Regions from separate parts of the Homo sapiens genome. Here region 1 is linked to region 2. The links are contacts of gene promoters, found by promoter capture Hi-C in blood cells and fetal thymus (Javierre and others, 2016). All regions are on one chromosome and are shown on one strand. Each heading gives the region's core, a stretch centred on a gene start or on the middle of the fragment in contact. The rest is flanking DNA. Distances are from core to core; before and after follow the strand shown.

Region 1 (5,260 bases), core at 989-3,488, 1.4 Mb after region 2:
TACCAAGAAATTAAAAAGTTTATTCCGTGAACATCTGTATACCCTCTACCTAATTTAGCAATTGTTAGTATTTTGCCATATTTAAGTCATATTTTTAAGCTAGTTTGCATTAGTTTTTTCTGTCACTTCCAACCAAGAAACCTACCAATTTCCAATTTTCACATACCACCATCACAGTTTTCCATGTCAATCACAACCTGTACTGTTATTTGATTAGTATTATTATTTTACTTGCTTTGTTTGAGAATGTATATTAAAAGAAACTTTAATCACAACCTTAAATTATATAAATAATGGGTTTGATATGTTAGTTGCATTTTTTCTAAAGTACATTCAAATAAACCTTTGATTATTGAAATTAAATATTCATTTACTCATCAACTAAAACCATCTTACCATCTGAGTGGGCTATCACCCCAGCAGAGTGGCCCTTCTGACTCACTCTGTCCATACCCTCTGAACCTTTGCATAAGACATTCCAAATTCTGTCCACCTTACCTTTCTATACTGATTGAGTCACCTCCACCTTGAGGCCTTCCCAGATTAAACACAACAGACCCTGGTCACTCTGTGGCCCCTGTGCTCAAGCCACCTTGCTATCCTTCAAACCTACTTCCCCCATCTCATGGTCTTTGCATTTACTGTCCCCTCTGCCTGGAGAGCTCCTACCCACATATTTCCATAGCTCAACCCACACTTCATCTCAGGGTCCTTTTCTCTGACACCTTCCCCAACAACAGCTCCAATCCCTCCAGACTCTCTTCATCTGCTTATCTTAGTATATACCTTGGGGCAGGGTTCTCAGTGTGGGCTGAATGAATGCACCGCTCCAGGATCCCCTCAGTCCTAGAGTCTGCACAGACCTTGAGTGGTCTATAATGCCACTGAGAGAGCAGGTGCCACAATTAATCCAATATTCCAGCTAACTGAGCACATACCGTCTCCCAAATGTGTGCCCAAGTCTTACCCAGGCTTCAAGGCCAGCTCAGATGCCACCTCCTCCCGAAAGCCTTATCTGATTCCCCCAGGCCACCTCCTTCCCCTCTGAATTCCCAAGCAGTTTATCTGCCCCTCTCTTATGCTATCTACCTTCTTCAATCACGTATAATTACAAAAACATGTGCCTGTTTCTCCCTTTTTCCACCAGACTATGAACTTCTTGTAGGTGAAGACCGTGCTTGATTATTCTCTACAAACAGATAAGTTCGTGTTACACCATTAAACCTCAACAACAATCACAGGACTTGTTTGCTTGTTTGTTTCAACATTTAGGGGGCAAATCTATGGCATGAGTAGTGAAGGAAGTTCTATTATTTAGAAAGCTATTGTTCCTCATTATTTTGTTAAAGATAGATATTTGTTTGGAAGTGAAAGAAATAACATAATGCAAGATGTGTTTGCACAGTAATGCACCTTATCATTAAATGTATGTATACATATGTCCATATATATATACACAATATATACAAGGTCTTTAAAGTTTACAAACATTTTTCCTATCATTTACATTTTTCATTCTTATAAATGAAAGAATGGTTCAGCAGGTTCTGGAGGCTCAGAGAAATACGTCCATCGAACAATGTGCTCTCTGATGCTTTTGAAGATGATGCCACTCCCAGACGCTCCATTCTTTCCCTGCTCCCCACCACCCCTGTGGTTCCATCATTCTCAAATGGCAGCAGAAGGACTCACTGGCTGATGAAGTCTTCAGTTTTTCCATAGACATGGATGGAGCTCAGGCCTTGCAGAGAATTGAGGATGTGGGAGAATAAAGGAGACCGGCTATAGTTCTCCAGTCTCTTGAACACACCGATGGCCTTCTTGAACATCCTGCATGGACAGTGGAGGTAAGGGACCTGGACCGTCCACCTCTGGGACCATCTAGTCTGGGTTGGTCCCAGCCTTGCTCCCCAAGTCACAAGCAAAAAGAACCTACTCACATATAATAAATGAAGCAAATAACCATGATTATGGCTCCCATTAACAGGATATATGGAGACAGCACACTGACAATCAACAGGACGGCGATCACCATTAAGGACAGGACCAGGAACTGCTCTGAAAAGATGGGCAAGAGCTGGTCCAGCTGTTCCAAGTCCCCTGCGAAGCAGTTCAAAAGCCGGCCTATTGGGATGGTGTCAAAGAAACTCATGGGGCAGCGGAAAACCTGCAGGGACAAAATCAACGCAGACCATGAGAGAAGCTGCAGGCCCTGCTCAAGATTGGATGAAGATGCCTGTTACCCTTGACTCTAAAGAGCCACGGATCCCAGGGGTCTCCAGGGCAGGCAATGTAGAGCAATGATTTAAAAGCATGGATGGGCTCCACGGCTACCTGACTCCTCCACCTACTGCTGTCTGACCTCGGGCAAGTACTGAGTTCCTCTGAGTCTCAAGGTCCTCGTTAGCGAAATGGGAATGAAAACGATGCTTCACAGAGTTGTAGTGAGGATCACACAACTCCTCAAATATACTAAACACTGAAGTGTATAATTAAAAGGCTGAATGTATGGTATATGAATTATATCCTGTAAAGCTATTAGAGAGAGAGAGAATACATTAAAAATGCTCAGAGCAGTGCCTGCCCCTGAGGTAGGAGGTGAGACTTGACTCTGGAGGCAGGGTTTGAACGCCAGACCAAATTGAGGACTAGCTAAAACAGGGGTGGGGTGGAAGCCACTTTCCATAAGACAGGCCCACCAGTGTGTCGTGTCAGTTTACCATTCCCATGGCAACACCCAGGAGTTACCGCCTCTTTCTGGGTCATCAATGACTTGATGACTTGGAAGTTGCCACCCTTTTCCTAGAAACTTCTGTATAAACTGTCCCTTAATCTACATGTAATTAAAAGTAGGTATAAATATGACTGCAAACCTGCCCTGAGCTGCAGCTCTCAGCACACTGCCTACGGGGTAGCCCTGCTCTGCAGGGTCAGTCACAGAGCTGCAACACTGCCAGAACTGCAACAGTGACACTTCAGTAAAGCTGTTTTCTTCTACCCTACCACTGGCTTGCCCTTGAATTCTTTCCTGGGCAAAGCCAAGAACCCTCATGGACTAAGCCCCAGTCTGGGGTTTACCTGCCCTCCATCACCCCCAGTAGGGCATTCTACCAATACCAGCTCTTATTATTTTCTACAGATGGGACCATTTTCACTCAGGACTGCCAAAGATTAGGAGCAGCAATCCTACTGGGTTGCACACGATTTGGACCCTTGGATCAAATTTAGCCTTAACTGCCCCCTTCTTGAGGGTGGCACCTGCAAGTTGATCTCTAACAGCCAGTGGCCATGAGGCCTTTCGGAGATCAAAGGACATGTCAAACCACAAGGTAGGCTCTAACAAAAGCATTTAGTTTGGTGTCCTTGTTTTGCAGATGAGGAAACTGAAGATTGCAGAAGAGGAAGTGGCTCTGTAACTTACTCATTACGCAAGTGGTTAATGGCAAAACCATGATCCAATTAGGCCTTCTGAGGCTTCCCCAAGCCTGGCACAGTCACTCTTCACAGAAGGCAATTTCTTAAAGGTTCATGGCACTGACCAAATGACCACCTACATTTCCCCATGTACTTCTCAAGCTATAATGCAAGAAGTAGAAATGAATAGAAGCCAATGGCATTTATTAAAGCCAAACTCAAAGAAAGAGGAGGGAAGGACATTTTGACGGTTACTAAATGTAATTATTTGAGCCATGAAGTGTTCTCTGTAGCTGCTCTCATCGCAAATGCATGGATACTGCTGACCAAGCGTAGCTCTCATGTATGTTTGCTTTCTAGCTGGTGGGGTAGTGAGGGTTGGAGGAGCAGATTTAAAGCCTCCTTGCTTTTTCTGCCTCTAAAATCCCTTCAATTTTATTTCCAGAATGTTTTATTAAATACTTGAGCTAAAGCAATCAGAATTGTCATGATCACTCAGAGGAATCAAAGGGCAAAAGGGTCACCCCTTCAAGGACTCTGAGCACACCTTGCAGGTGCGGGGCATGGCAGGGTTGTGGAGGGGACACAGGAGTGGACGTCAGCTCCACTGTGGGTGAGGAAGATGCATCTGTGGAAGCCCAGCATTACTTTGGATTAGGGACCAATGGTGGCGACAAAGGGAAAATGGTTTCAGTTTCTGATTGTCTTCTAAGTATCAAAATGATCTGGGGTTGTTCTTGTTTGTTCATTTTTGCTTCATTTTTTTCTGTTGTGCTTGCAGTTGAGCGAACTTTTTAAGATTTATCCTTTACTTGTGATTCTTTAAAACTACAAAGACAAATTTAAAGTTTAAAAAGCCATGAAAGGACTGGAAAAAGGAAAATATTTTAAACACAAAACACGTTTTCATGGAAAGAAACTTGAACATTTCTCAAAATTAAAATACGAAATGTCATTTAGAGGCATGGGCACTGGATATTTCTAGAATCTTGGAATGTGCCATCAAAAGAAACTCAGAGACCACCTTGAGGGCCGAGGGCCACCCCCAGAGGCCGGGTGGGAAAGTGTCAGGCCTCAGGTAGAATTTCCCCCTCCTGCTTTCTGGTTCTGCCAAGCTTTATCTGAGAGGTGGGGAAAAGCTTTGTCTCACCCTGCCAAAGTTGAAACACTTCATGGCAACACAATTTGCATTCAGTCTACAAGGAACGATGGGCCGCTCCTCACCTCCTGCGTCTCCAAGTCAAAACCCCCACTCCCACCTCTGAGATTAGCCTTCCAGAGCTCCATTCTCCTCCCAGAAGTGCTCTGCTTTTGTTCACCTTCAGTCTCCTGGTCTTGAGCTGGCTAAATCTGATTCCTCCTTCAAGGAGTGAAGTCCCCAAGAAGGCTTTCTGGACTCTCCCCACTTTCTTCCCCTGCCCTCAAGCTAAGACAAGGTGCCTCTTATGTTCTCATGGCCCTGTGTGCTCCATCCCGTGATAAACTTTACATATCTACGACAATGGCCTGTTTTCTTGTCCATCTCCCCCATTAGACTATACATCCATGATGGCCCAAACCCTACCTGCACTGTGCATTCTCTAATGTAAGCCTCATGCCCACTGCAGAACCTGGCACATAGTAACACTTAGTAAGTGAGAGAGAGGAATGACATTTCCAAGAAGCAGTGTGATACCATAAGCAATTTGGTTTTTTTTTTTTTAAATGAGATAGGGTCTCACTGTCTCCCAGGCTGGAGTGCAGTGGCATGATCTCAGCTCACTGCCACCTCCACCTCCCTGGCTCAAGCGATCCTCCTTGATCCTCAGTCCCCCAAGTAGCTGGGACTACAGGCACAAGCCCCCAT
Region 2 (5,254 bases), core at 678-3,177:
CTTTTGTTATGGCAGCCAAAGCTGGGTAAGCTGATTTTATATGAAAGAATAAATATGGGGGAGGGGGTGTATAACAAAATGAATGTGATCTTTCCAAATAAAACGCTGATCTTGTTTTGTTGAACAGTTTTTCAGAAACTCCTATAAGTTTATTATCCTTTGCTCTTTTATATAAAAATAGCCATAAAAAGTGGCTATTTTTCCCAAAAGGTTGCTTTATGCCAATTAGAACAAAGTCAGGATTTGCAAATACTTGTGCCTTACAGAAATTGGAATGCATAACGCATACCATGTAAACCTTACACTTCTACACAATTAACTGGAATAATTGGAAATGATTTAAACACTGAAATAATCTCCCGCAAAGAGTCATATTGCAAAGTCCAGTTTTGTCAAAATTTAACAAATTTAGTTCAGTAGTAAGAATGAAAGTAACTCTTTGGAAAACATGACTAAACTGTTTTTATACTGCATACTGGTATAGCTCCTACACTGTATTTCTTGCACAACCTTTTTCTGATAAGCATTTTTACTACAGCCCATAAAGGATACTTAATAAAACATGTAACATGTTTTCTGTTAAAAGATTTGAAAAACCTACAAGAATTCTCCTTGAAAAATGCACTAAAATCAGCTTATTAAAAAGTCTCCAGCCATTTCAAATTACTCTTGATTTAAAAAAAAAAAAAGGCGGTGGGGGGAGGGGAGGAGAGAAAGGTAGTCATTTTGAAAAAATCCACTCAGTGGAAAAGGAAAAAACACACCCAGATCTACATGTTGGTAACAAACGAGGGCCTTACGAATGGTTTTAACTGAAGTAGTTTTAACTCATTAGATGTTAAGGCTTAAAGGAATGTCTATTATTCCAGTAAAGAATTGAGACACGCTTCAACACAGCGATCACTGAAATGAGATGTTTTAAATTACAACTATTACACCATGAACTCAATGTAGAAAGGAATCGTTTCAAATTCAAGAAACGAGATAGAGAGATAGAGAGATAGAGAGAGACAGACAGAGAGAGAGAGAGAGAGAGAGAGAGAGAGAGAGAGAGAGACACACAGAGACATTCAGACAGACAGGGATACAGATCTGGAAGCAGACAGGCCAAATTTGTAACAGTGGATACTGCGAGGGGTGGGGAAGTTAGGAGCGCCCAAAAAGGAGGAAGGGCTTAAACAGGGGCTTTATTCAATCATGACCCATTAAAAACGATGTAAAGGCAGGATTCGCGATTGCACAGCAAAAATATAATAAATAGATGAGGAAGGGGAAAAAATCTCCAAATTCGCCGAAACTCAAAATCATTACACGCGGCCCCCTTTGTCCCACTCAGGCGCCCGCCCCGGTCGCGGAGGGGCCGTTTTGGGGAAGCCCCGCACCCGTCGGAACCGGGAACAAAGCCGCCCCGGCCGCAGGAGGGGTTCTCGGAGCTAGGGCCTGGCCTCGGAGGCGGGCGTGCGGCACACTCTCGCCGGGGCTGCGGCCCGCAGGCTCCCACCGCTGTCACCGCCGCCGGCGAGGAGAGTCTGGGGCTCCAGACAGCCGCCCGGTGAGCCCACCAAAGGCGCGCTCCTCCAGTGGCCGGGACACAGCAAGAAGGGGCTTGGCCGTCTGGCCGCCGCCAGGTGGACGCTGGCGGGCCACGGCCCCGGGCTTTTCCCGGGAAACCCCTCGGTGCAGCCCGACCGGCCCCGGATCCCCGCCGCCGCCGGCGGGCCCCAGGATCTGCCCACCGCTCGGCCTCCGGGAGCCCGGCGAGGCCCCCCTCCACAGACAACGGCCGCCAAGCCACTGCCGCCCGCCCGCGCGCCCGGCCCCCGGCACCCACCTGTTGGTCGCACTCGGGGCATGATTTGGTGGCCATCTTCACTTTCTTGGCTCGAGTTGCAGACATGCTCCTCTCCCTTAGCGGCGGCAGCAGCGACGGCTCGGGCTCCTCCCCTCACACTTCGGCAGCCCGGCCTCCGCCCGCCCAGTCCCCGCGGGCCTCAAACAAGCCTCTGGCGGGTGCGCGCGCGCGCGTGCGCGAGCTCGCGCGGGACCTGGGCGCCAAGGGGGCGGGGCGGAGCGTCGGCCGGCGGCTCCTGGGGACCGCGACACGCGCTCCCACGGCGGCTCGCGACCCACAGCCCGCCCGCGAGCTCGCCCAGAGTATCACGAGACGAGGGGAGACCTCCCCCCCCTCCGCCAGACCGCCCCGGCGCGGCAGTGGCCACGCCTCCTCTCGGCCTGGCCGACTACGAGGGGGCAAGGCCTGGGCGGGACTCGGCAGTAACGGGCGTCGAGTTCGACCAACGAATGCATAGGTAGGGCGGGCCGTAGTGCTGGGCACGCCCCATCCCCACAGAGACCGTGGGAGCGAAGGCTGGGGAATGAATGGTGAAGGGCGTAGCGTGGATCCTGGCATTTAATAAACTTAAGTAGATGTTACCAAGGCTAATCATTGAGAAATTATGATAGACATTTTATGAGACCACTGGACCCAGCAGCAGAGTGAAAATTCATTTATTTATTCAATATATAATTGCCTAAGTCCCACTGTCAGGAAAATTTGAATAAAATGCAGTGTCAGCCTTCAAGGAGCAGCCTAGCTGTGTAAACCAGTGCTACTCACTATCAAGATGAGGGATCAGATGTTTTTCTTTTTCCAATCTGTCCGTGACTGATACTTACTAAATTAACATTAAAATTAAATTATTCGAGGCTGGGCGCAATGGCTCACGCCTGTAATCCCAGCACTTTGGGAAGCCGAGGAGGGCGGATCTCTTGAGCCCAGGAGTTCCAGACCACCCTGGGCAACATAGCGAGACCCCCATCTCTACAAAAAGTAAAAGATTTTTAAAAATTAGCTGAGCGTGGTGGCCCATGCCTGGAGTCCTAGCTAGTAGAGAGGCTGAGGTGGGAGGATCGCTTGAGCCTATGAGATTGAGGCTTCAGTGAGCCGAGATTGTGGCCACTGCACTCCAGCCTGGGCGACAGAGCGAGACTCCGTCTCAAAAAAAAGAAAAAGAAAGAAAAAGTGAAATTTAAAAACAACTATGCAAAACGTAAGCTTACTTTTAAATATTTAATTTGACAGACCCAAAGTTATACTTAATAAACAATCAGAACAAACATAACAGAAAGAAAATTTACAAACTGTACACTTGGCTCAGAGAAAATTTACCAATATGCATTTATTACAGAGACTGGCTATTCCACTGATAACTTTTTATTCAACAATTGTTAACTAAAGCAAAGTTATGAGTTACAATTTTACATAGTAAATGCCTGTAAGCACACTTTGTATAAATAACAGTTATATAAATGTTTAAAGCTTTTAATATGAAACCCACGAAATTGCTTCCTGTTTGGTCCATTTACAGGCATACCTTGGAGGGACTGGGGGTTCAGTTCCAGGCCATTGCAAAAAAGAGAGCCACACTCAATTTTTTGTTGTTGTTTCCCAGTGTATATAATAAACATGTTTCCACTATACTGTAATATATTAAAAGTACAATAGCATTATGTCTAAAAAACAGTGTACACACGTTGATGTTAAAATTGGGCTAAAAATCCTGGGCAAAATGGTGAAACCCGTCTCCACAAAAAATTAAAAAATAGCCATGTGGTGACAGCGTATGCCTGTAGTCCCAGCTACTCAAGAGGTTGAGTTGGAGGATCCACTGAGCCCAGGAGGTCAAGGCTGCAGTGAACCATGATTGCGCCATTGCACTTCAGCCTGGGTGACAGAGAAAATCCCTGTCTCAAAAAAAAAAAAAAAAAAAAAAAGGAGTTAATCTTCACAAACCCTGCCACTGCTTTATCAACTAATATTTATGTAATATTCTAAATCCTTTGTTGCCATTCCACTATGTTCACAGAATCTTCCCCAGGAGATTCCATCTCAAAAAACCACTTTCTTTGCTCCTTCGTAAGAAGTAACTCCTCATCTGTTCAAGTTTTATCATGAGATTGCAACATTAATCCCAGCACTTTGGGAGGCTGAGACAGGAGGATTGCTTGAGCTCAAGAGTTCAAGACCAACCTGGGCAACATAGTGAAACCTCATCTTCACAAAAAAATACAAATCTTAGCTGGGCATGATGTGCACCTGTAGTTCCAGCTACTTGGGAGGCTGAGGTGGGAGGAATGCTTGAGCCCAGCAGGTCGAGGCTGTAGTGAACCACAATCGTGCCACTGCACTCCAGCCTGGACAACAGAGTGAGACCCTGCTGTGTGTCCCGCATTTGCAATTACATCCTCCACTGAAGTCTTGAACCCCTCAAAGTCATCCATGAGGATTGTAATCAACTCCTCCCAAGCTCCTGTTAATGTTTATATTTTGACTTGCTTCCATGAGTCATGAATGTTCTTAGTACTATCTAAAATGGTAAATCATTTCCAGAAGGTTTTCAATTGACTTTGCCCAGATCCATCAGAGGAATTGCTATCTATGGCAGCAATAGCCTTACAAAATGTATTTCTGAAATAATAAGACTTGAAAGTCGAAATTACTCCTTAATCCATAGGTTACAGAATGGATTAGCAGGCATGAAAATAACATTAATTTCTTAAACCTCCATCAGAGCCCTTAGGTAACCAGGTGCATTGTCAATGAGTAATAATATTTTGAAAAGAATCTTTTTTTCCAAGCAGTAGGTCTCAACAGGGGGCTTGAAATATTTAGTAGACCATGACAGATTTGCTGTCATCCAGACTTTGTTATTCCATTTATAGAGTATAGGGAGAGTAGGTTTAATATGTTCCTTAAGGGCCCTAGGATTTGGGGAATGGTATATGAGCACTGACTTCAACTTAAAGTCATCAGCTGCACTTGCCCCCTAACAAGACAGTGAGCCTCTCCATTGAAGGTTTGAAGCCAGGCCTTGATTGCCTTCTTCTCTCTAGCTATGAAAGTCTTAGGTAGCATATTCTTCCAGTAAAAGGCTGTTTTGCCTACAATGAAAATTTGTTCTTCAATGTAGAATTAGCTAGATCTTTTGGATAACTTGCTGCAGCTTCTACATCAGCACTTGCTTCCCACCTTGTACTTTTACATTATGGAAATGGCTTCTTTCTTTTTTTTCTTTTTCTTTTTTTTCTTTATGACGGAGTCTCGCTCTTTCACCCAGGCTGGAGTGAAGTGGCATGATCTCAGCTCACTGCAACCTCCACCCACCTCCCGGACGAGTTCAAGCAATTCTCCTGCCTCAGCCTCCCCAGTAGCTGGGATTACAGGCACCCACCACCATGCCTGGCTAATTTTTGT

Evidence for each region. Contacts are between HindIII fragments. The CHiCAGO score rates a contact against its expected background, and 5 or more counts as called.
Region 1: a contact is called between a fragment that was not itself captured here and the fragment with the promoter of C16orf87 in region 2, in 1 of 17 cell types (M0 macrophages). The highest score is 7.2, in M0 macrophages.

Annotation. Positions count from the first base shown.
Region 1 is chr16:48,185,261-48,190,520 of GRCh38, forward strand. ABCC11 (ATP binding cassette subfamily C member 11) reads right to left here. Exons shown (of 30, transcript NM_001370497.1): 21 at 1,941-2,167; 22 at 1,693-1,830. Among named protein-coding and RNA genes, the nearest start is that of ABCC12, 32 kb to the left of the region's middle. RefSeq lists a silencer at 3,178-3,472. The HindIII fragment of the contact is 4,577 bases long and covers 1-4,527 here.
Region 2 is chr16:46,829,253-46,834,506 of GRCh38, forward strand. C16orf87 (chromosome 16 open reading frame 87) reads right to left here and starts at 1,928. Exons shown (of 4, transcript NM_001001436.4): 1 at 1,832-1,928. The coding sequence starts at 1,897. RefSeq lists a silencer at 1,625-2,274. The HindIII fragment of the contact is 5,874 bases long and covers 1-3,053 here.